Regions from separate parts of the Homo sapiens genome. Here region 1 is linked to region 2. Evidence: promoter capture Hi-C in 16 types of primary human blood cells and fetal thymus (Javierre and others, 2016). All regions are on one chromosome and are shown on one strand. Each heading gives the region's core, a stretch centred on a gene start or on the middle of the fragment in contact. The rest is flanking DNA. Distances are from core to core; before and after follow the strand shown. Region 1 overlaps TMSB15B-AS1 (TMSB15B antisense RNA 1). Region 2 holds the start of FAM199X (family with sequence similarity 199, X-linked).

Region 1 (4,524 bases), core at 1,702-4,201, 260 kb before region 2:
ACGTGTCATTCAAAATGGCCAGTCTTGGCAAGGTTGCTCCCTGTCAGACCGTTCAGGTAAAGCAAATCCTCCTGGTAATACAATGAAGTTAGTAAAATGGTCCCAGATTACAATGGGGGAAAAAAGTCTTTTTTACCTAAAAAGGTATAACATGGCAAGAAAACCAGTGAGGTAAGCACACACACATAAACTTCTAAACAGTCCTTTCTACAAATTGGGGTACACAAATCCTACTTGAAATTGTAGCAATCAAATCCTGCTCTTCATTGGATGGAGGAGGCAAGGGTCATGTCCATATATTCCCTGAATTAATATTCTCAAATCGCCATCATTAAAACACGCAAGCAAACAAATAAATAGCACACAAACACACCAATTTCCTCCTCTATGCCCCAGCAGGAACAGCCCAGATAGGGTCTTCTTGGTTCATCCTGTGTCTTGAACCATTTTGTGTCACTATAACAGAATGTCCGAGGCTATGTAACTTATAAGGGAAAGCAGTTTATTTAGTGGATGGTTCTGTAGGCTGGGAAGCACAGGGAAATGGCCCTGGCTCCTGTGAGGGCTTCCGTGCTGCCTCATAATATAGCAGATAAGGTAAAACAGGAAGAGGACAGGTGTAAAGAGAACCCAAGAGATGTCCTGGCTTTGTAACACCCTCTCTAGAGGGGAGGAAACTAACGCATTCCCAAGAGAATGAATCCAGTTTCTCCAGAGTGAGAGCTAAGTCATTACTGGAAGAATGGCACCAAGCCAGTCATGAGAGATCTGCCCCTCATGATCTGCCCACATCAGCTGCATTGGGGATCACACTTCAACATGTTTTTGGGTGGGGACAAACAAATCATATCCAAACCGAGGCATCCTGGGTCACCTCTGTACACTTTTGGCCAGTGACTGTGGCTCAGAGACTGTAATTCCGTCATTGGCTGAGCCAGTGGAGACAGGAGTGTGAACAAAAGTTCTCTGAAAAGGAATTTGGAGGACAGAACACTTGTGCCAGTGAATACTTGGCAACCCTGGGAGAGGCTGTCTTGGGTGTGAAAACAATTGCATTGAAGGGAGTGGTAGGATTTAATAGTGAGTGGTAGGGTTTAAAGTTCATTCCCTCTGAACTCCCTAATAAAGCCCATTTATGCAAATGAAGGATTGAAATCACTGAGTTCTGATAGGCCTGCACAGCTGAGCTCTGATTGGTCAATGATGCTGATCCCTGATTTGTTGATAGAGCCTAGCTCTGATTGGCTGGTTCTGGTGTGCTCTGGAAGCCCCAAAGTTGAACAGAGGTGTGAGTTTTCTGGGAACTCAGAGTACATGTGTGACCTCTAGTCAGCAAATGGCCGCTTGGCTCCATTTGAATTTAGGTCCAGTTAGCCACTTGTGATCCATCTTAAAGGATTGGCTCTTTGACATTCAAATATGTTTCCAGGGGCGTGAGCTGCTGTCATTGGATTCTCCCATCATCTGAGTGATGCATAGTAGCTTTATTTAGTCTTATCTAGTTTCTTTAGTCACCAAAATAAGTTTTGTCAGTATGAGAACGGTTCTGCACATTCTCTGATTTTTTTGTTACTCCTGTTTGCTAATGTAGCCCATTACCATTCCTTCTTGCATCTCAGATTATCTTTTTGTGATCACTTTCCATCCGCCTAAAGTATGTTCTTCCTGCGTTCTTTGAAGGTGAAGTTCACTGGTGTAAATACTGCTACTTTACTAGTTAGAAATGTCTTTTCAGATTGGGATCCACAGGAAACAGACTCTGAGATGGATTTTAGTGTGCATGACATTTACTTAGAATTAACCCCTGAGGAATGGAAGGGAGGGAAGCAGGAGTGGGCACAGAGAGAAGTGCATCCATACTGCAGGCCCAACCAAAGCCTCTTCGGATCCCAAGGGGAGCTCTGAAGGTAAAAATGGCCCATCAGAATCATTCCACCTTGGGCAGAGCAAGCCAGATGTTTGTGCCTCCTCTTGGATCAGTCCTTGGATGTGGTCAGTCTCTGCAAGTGCGTGACCTTGGGCAAGGCAGCTCCTGCAGCTCGGGTCATACCTGAAGGAACTGATGGCTGATGACTGGCATCCAACTGCTGTCCCAGCAGCTGAAGCAGAAAATCTGTCCTTGAAGGGGGTTTGGGGCGATCTACCTGCATGTCTGTCACAGCTTACTTCTTAAATGATGTTTGGCTAGGAATGCAACTCTAGCATGACAGCTATTTTTTCCTTTTTGGCCTCCATTTGTTGATGTATAGATACCTGCTGTCTATTTTGTACTCGTTTATAGGCAATGTATCTATTTTATGCTATTATGATATTTGTTTATCATTATGCTGTAGCTTTACTATGATGTGTCCAGGTGTGCTTCCTAAGTTTAGTGAATCATTTATCTCCCTAATTTTGGATACTTACCAGCCATTCATTTATTTACAAGTTTCTTTTCTATATTTCAGGAATCCTACTTGGATACACTTTGAAACAAGAGCAAACCAAAACACAATATACTTCAAATAGTTTGTTGAATATACAAACTATGATAGTTCAAATCTGAAAACTGGTACTTTTCCTCTTAAACTTCAACTAAGTAAAAAAGAAAAGAAAGAAAACTCCAGGTATTAGAGCTACCTGACAAAAACTGATGCTGAACCTGATCTTCCAAGTGACAGTGGAACTGAAACTGATGTGTCTGCACAGATGCCAGGGCTACATGGGTGGCACAAGTATGTTATAGCAAAAGAACAGGAACCAACTGTTAATTTGTCCACAATTAGGGAGCTAGTTGACTTTACCATATAAAATGTTTCATATGAATTCTACAACAATACTGTGTTATGTACAAGATTTTAAAAATTTTTTTGTTTTAATGGAAAAGCTTTACACAAACAAGCCATTAGCTCATTTCAAGAAAAAAAAACCCTAAAAATTAGTTTAAGGCCTTTGTTTTAAATCAACTTAAGCCATATGATACATATTTTTTTTATTTGCAGTGGATCTTTTCTCCTTCTTTCTTTCTTTCTTTCTCTTTTGTGCTTTCCACTTTCTGAAGCTTTTGGATCCATTCTTCAATTCACATTCTAAAATACTTGTACTGGGTGAAAATGCATAGTACAAAAGTTGGTAATTTCCCCCATTATCTTTGTGGCCTATAAAACTAGAAATTGATGAAGAAAAAAAAAACCCTGCTGATCAAGTTTGAACCCTCCTACAGAAACGATCTGAACAACTGGGTGGCAGAAGAAATTCTAGCAATTAAGTATGTGGAACACCCTCAGTAGACAGCCTGGACCTGCATGGATGAGTGCATTACCCCAACCTCAGCTTTGAGATGATGGAGCTGGATTTTGGCTGCATCCTGAACAATACTGAGGTCATTCGCTAGGTTACCATCACCAACTGCAGCCCCTTGGTGGTGAAGTTCCGCTGGTTCTTCTTGGTGAATTATGAGGAAAATCAGATAATGTAGCACCGGCATAGAACTCCCACAGGACTCTGCTGTTCATTTATTTTCTCTTTCAGGCTTTTCACTAGGTTTTCTGTATTCTGTGTACTCATCATTCATGAATATTTTCATTTTTGACAACTAATTACTGAGAAAATTAATAGGGGGATTAAAATCATGACTCTTTCTAGATTTCCTAACAGGAAACCTAGATAAAGCATCTTTGAAAGTCCCAATCACCACCGAATTAAGAAAACAATATCCATAAGCCCATTTTAATTTTGAATCTAGTGATAAGATCATTAGAATTTCATCATTAAAAAATAAAGTCTTTGTAGAGTTTTTTAAAAAACACCTGTATTAGCAGAGCCTTCACATAGCACAAGTTAAGTGAGTAGTGTGAGAACACAGTAATACTTGCTAATATGCATATAAAATGCATTAAAAGTTGCTATGTGTAACAATGAGATCACCTATCCCAACCCCTCCCCACTGAAAACTGTATAACCTCTTGCAGAATGTCAGTGTTTCAAATCTTAGCATAACTTGAGATAGTAGTGTGCTGCCTGGTCCCTTTCAATCCTTTTTCTTATTGAAGGGTTCAGTTGTTTTCCTACTGTAAGAGGGAGGTTTCTGTCAGCATCTCAATGCATGTAGTTCATTTCTCATTGACACATGGGATAGATAACTTATTTCCGGTAAGTTTCATTGTTTTCTTATATGCATTAAAATGTTTTAAAGTCTTCTTTGACTTTTCTTGATGACTTCCCTTGCAAGTGTTTATGTCAGTACTACCACTCACAGTCTGAAATCTATGGTGGGCCTGTCATTTTATTTCTCACATGTCAATAGTATTTCTGTTCTTATAGTTAGTTACTCGAAAGGCAATAGCAGAAGTCTCACTGACAACCGCTACTTGGGTCACTGTCTTATTTCATCTGCTGGTTTCTCTTCTACCAGTTGCAGTCTCCACATCATCTTTCTACTGGTTTTCCATGGATTCTGATTCAACCTTTTATGACTGCACTGACAACTTCAAGAAGAGTCTGGCCAGATGCCTGTTGAGTAGGCAGTGATAGTCCCATTAAAGG
Region 2 (4,435 bases), core at 291-2,790:
CTATTTCGTTAGCTTCTTATTAACAGTTCCTGGTGCTATTACCTGAGTGCCTGCATTATCATGCAGCACTTGACTCTTGTTTCATTTGGATAATCAAGTCTCTTGTTTTTGGGGACTAAGCCATGGCCCATTCAGCCTCACTGGCCTCAGACCCCTGGGGATTGGTGCATTAGGGACCATAGAACAAACCATCATCAGCCTCACTTCCACAAGTTTTAAATTGGTCAGCCTCATTAGATATTAATGAATGATTCATTTTGAAAGCCACATACACAATGCAACACACCTTCTTGCAATCTCAATGAAAGAAAGCCGGCATGCTCAACAGTCAAACAACCAAGTAACTGAAGCAAGATAATGTATACATTTTAAAGGCACGTTGGAGAAGCTGTTTTCACTATAAGTTGCATTGGTAGGGCAAGGCACAGAGTTTAATACTGAATGGGGCTTGTTTTAGTGACAACCCCCCACTTCTCCTGCCCTCTTTCTCTTCTTCCTCCTGCCTTCTTTCATTTTTCCCCTCCTTTCCGCCTATTTAAGTTCTATGCTTTCCTGAAGGATCAATGTAGTTTCTTCATAAATATAGTTAATGCAAAGAATTGCTTTTATTGAAGAATTATGCTCTTATATGAAAATGTGCTTCCTTTTATAAAATAATATTAGGTAGTTTTAAAAATTGTCTTCTTTGGGCAAAGTAAGAAATTAGTAATCTTGGGGTTTCCTCTATTTTTTTTTAATCTTACGCATCCAAGAACAGGAATCACTTGCCCAGAATATAGAGAAGAGAGATGAGATAAACAGCAAAGTACACTATATAACACCTAACAAGTTGATTCAAGTTGAACAAGTTAAGCTCCATAATATATTTTCTACGGGAGGGAGGGGGCAAATTAGCAGGTGTGCCTTAGTCTCCTTTGGGAGTCAGGGAAGGCTTCACTGAGGAGATAACGTTTGAGCTGGAGTTTGAAGGATTAGCAGGGGAGAAATGGCAGGGCATTCCAAGCAGGGTGCCTATGAGCAAAAGGCGCAAAGCACAAAAGAGTACGACGTGTCCAGCAGCTCTGAGTAGGCGAGTGGCTGCAGCGTAGGGTTCTTGGAGTTAGGTGATCAAGGGTGAGGAAGGGACTATTTTCCCTGCTTGGACGATTTCTCCTACACCTCATTGCACGGTGCTGGGCACACACTGCAGGAGCTCAATAAATACTTGTTGAATTGGGACAGAATGAAAGAGTGCGCTGGGAACCAGGGCATCTGGATGTTTTCTCACGCACCCGCAGTGTGACCTTGGCCAAGTCCCTTTTCTGGGACTGCGGTTCCTGCTTAGTAGTCGAGTACGAGTGAGAAAGCGGAGGAGGAGGTTGGCCAGAGGCGCCTAGCCTTTCTAGCGGCCTGAATCCCTGATTCGATGCGTAGAGGGCGGGGCGGGCCGCTTGGGGCCGCGGCGGGCGGAGGTTCAGTTCCTCCTCCGGTCCAGCAGGGGGCACGGGGAGTGGCTTCCCGCCGCCCTTCCCCTCCTTGCGGGCGCCGGGCAGACTGCTGCAGTCGCAAGCGGCGAGCGCAGTGGGCGGGGCGGGCCTGGCCGGGCCGGGCGGCGGCGCTGCGCTGACGGGCTGAGTCTGGCGGCGGCGGAAGCTGCAGAGGCCACCGGGGCGCTAACTGGGTGGCCGGTGGGCCGCTGTGGCCTCGAGCAGCCTCTTCGCGCGGCCCCGCACCCCGGCAAGCAGCAGCGGGCCGCGACGCCCAGCCTGCCAGTGAGCTGCGACGGGCACACCCCGGAGCGTCGGCGACTGCGGACAGGTTAGAGTGGGGGCAGGGGCGGGCGCGGGAGCAGCCCAGGGCCAGAGAGGGAGCCCGAGCCAGGCCATCTCCAACCATGTCCGACGAGGCCTCGGCCATCACTTCCTACGAGAAGTTTCTAACCCCCGAGGAGCCCTTCCCACTCCTGGGACCTCCTCGCGGGGTGGGCACCTGCCCGAGCGAGGAGCCGGGCTGCCTGGACATCAGCGACTTCGGCTGCCAGCTGTCCTCCTGCCATCGCACCGACCCGCTCCACCGCTTCCACACCAACAGGTACGAACTGCACCTGAGGGCAGGGGTGGATTTTCCACTTCTGGTCGCCCCCCGCTCCTGATCCTTCGTCCCGGGCTGCGCTTCCAGTCGCCCCCTCCCCCACCTGCTTTCGACCAGCGCTCATTCCCGGCCTCCTTCCCTGCCCCCCCTCCCTATTTTCACCCCTGCCCTCCTATTTTCCTTTCGACCGGCGTTTTACTCTCTTTTCCTCATTCATATTCTGGCTATAGCGACTCCTCCCTTCCCTACCTTCTCCCTCCCTTGCTTCCCTTCCCTCCCCCCATCTGTACCCTACGAATCCCAAACCCCCACCCTTGATTTTTAGATACGCCCCTGTTTGCATCCATCTGCAAAAGTTTAACCCCTTCCATTTCCGGTACGCTGTAGAGGAATTTGGATGGCTCAAGATCAATCCATAGATCTTTTGAAAAGTGGCGTTGAAAGGTGGAACATTTAAAGCTAGAAGCTTCATTTTCCCTATTTTTAATCTGTCTCACAGTCCTGTTCCCCCCGCCGCCACCACCCCTACCCCATTTTTTTTTTTAGTTGAGCGCTAGGAAACTAGTCGATTCTCTCTTTTTTTCCTCCTCCTTTATTAACTGTTTGCCTTAGCGCTTTAGGCTCTGCCAAAATTGGTAAGCTTAAATCTGGAGGATTCCTTCATATGACATATCCCTTGGTTTCCTTCCCCTTTGAAGAGACAGAGTAAGGCTTAGGATGGACTGACTTACACAAATTTATTCAGAGGGTGTATCTCCTCCTAACTGATTTCAGTAGAAGGTAGTGTTCTGGAGACTTCTCTCATGCAAGCATTTACGTGTTAGATCAAATCTTGGGGGGTGGGTTGAAGACGTTCTAGATACAGCCTCAAGTTTTAACATAGGTGGATATTTGAGATACATATACAAAGGGCTGGGGGGGTGTGTGGTTAAGGCTCTAGGAGAGGGGTTCAGCTATGGAAAATACTGGAGATAAATTAAGAAATCTAGTTCTGACTTCTGATCCAAGTTTATGATGTGAGTTTGATCAAATTCTTCCATATTTTAATGTCTTTAGCATATTTCTCCCCTCCCTTCCCTTAAATCAGTCTGTAGATTGAATGAGCTTCTACCAGATACAAGGAATGTGTAAAAGATGTTTCTTACATAAATGAAAGTTATAGTCTATGGAAACAAGGTGTTATAGTTAAATAATCAGAATATCAGTATAACACATCTCAAAAGGAAGTGGCAGTAAATTTATTATGACTACTCTAAATCGTCATTGCAAAAAATGAAGAAACAGGCCCAGAAAGAAAAGATTGAGTTCAAGGTCATAAAACCTAGTCAAGCAAATCCAAGACTATTCCTTTGAAGCCAATGATTAAACTTGGAGCAGAACTAATTGATCCAGTGTTACAAATAGAACTTATGGTTTCCTAGACCAACTCACAGAAGCCTATTTAACCCCTGATGTCACTGTAATGTGAATGTAACATATTCATGAAATCAAGTGTGCTTAGGGTTATTTATGTTGAAAAATAATGTAAAAGAATACCTTTGTACATATTTGGCATTTAAGTTTTGCAGCCTTGGAGCAAGTCACATACCCAGGAAAGTTAAATAATTTCAGAATGATCCTGCTGTGATGATGAGGGCAAGGGAGTGAGGGCAGAGGCTGTGGGTAAGTACTGCCAAAACTGGGTAGAGGTGATGGGGAGTGAAGTTATGAGAATAATATGTTTCTTACAACTTGTTCTGTTCCTTCCTCCTCCCCGTTTTTTCCTGTGTTTTCTTTCCCTTAAAGACTGTGGTGAGGTCAGGACTGTTTTTCAATGGGGCAGTGAGGAGGGGAGAAGGAGGTTCTTTGCAAGCCCCAGTTTTTCCAAGTCAAGCATTTTTCCTAGTTACTGCTTGCTTTTTTTTTTTTTTTTTTTAACTTCCCTCTCCTACCCTACTTTTCGCAAGGCTTGGCATGGTGGCAGGGGTTCTAATGCTCTGTATCCTTTTCAGCAGAGAGTAGGGGAAGCAAAATTAGCGATATTCACAGCACATGATGTTTCTGTCCTAGGCTACCTTGCCTTTTAAATGTATTATCCTTCTGCAATGTTCTGCTTTCTTACCCCTCCTCAAGATGGTGCTTGAGAGGACCATAGGCTTCCAGCCATTTCTTTTCAGGGAGAAGCACACAGCTAAATCATATATCGGGCAAAGTTTAGGGAGTTCTTTTATTTTGGAGTTGTATGTGTCACTTTTTTCCTTCACATCACATCATTTGTCAATTCAGGCAACAACCCAAAAATCAGATTTCAAATAGTTGAGTGCTGAAATTCTGCCTTGGGTTTAGTGATTGTAAAACAAATTTTCATTGGAAGTAGGAAGCTTGT

The links. Contacts are between HindIII fragments. The CHiCAGO score rates a contact against its expected background, and 5 or more counts as called.
Region 1: a fragment that was not itself captured here is called in contact with the fragment with the promoter of FAM199X in region 2 in 1 of 17 cell types (total B cells); the score reaches 7.0 in total B cells.

What each region holds. Positions count from the first base shown.
Region 1 is chrX:103,905,999-103,910,522 of GRCh38, forward strand. The region is part of intron 4 of TMSB15B-AS1 (TMSB15B antisense RNA 1); the gene reads right to left. It also overlaps the pseudogene ELF2P1. Among named protein-coding and RNA genes, the nearest start is that of TMSB15B-AS1, 11 kb to the right of the region's middle. The HindIII fragment of the contact is 174 bases long and covers 2,865-3,038 here.
Region 2 is chrX:104,164,913-104,169,347 of GRCh38, forward strand. FAM199X (family with sequence similarity 199, X-linked) reads left to right here and starts at 1,541. Exons shown (of 6, transcript NM_207318.4): 1 at 1,541-2,070. The coding sequence starts at 1,874. RefSeq lists a silencer at 1,329-1,818 and an enhancer at 1,383-1,883. The HindIII fragment of the contact is 4,401 bases long and covers 1-2,534 here.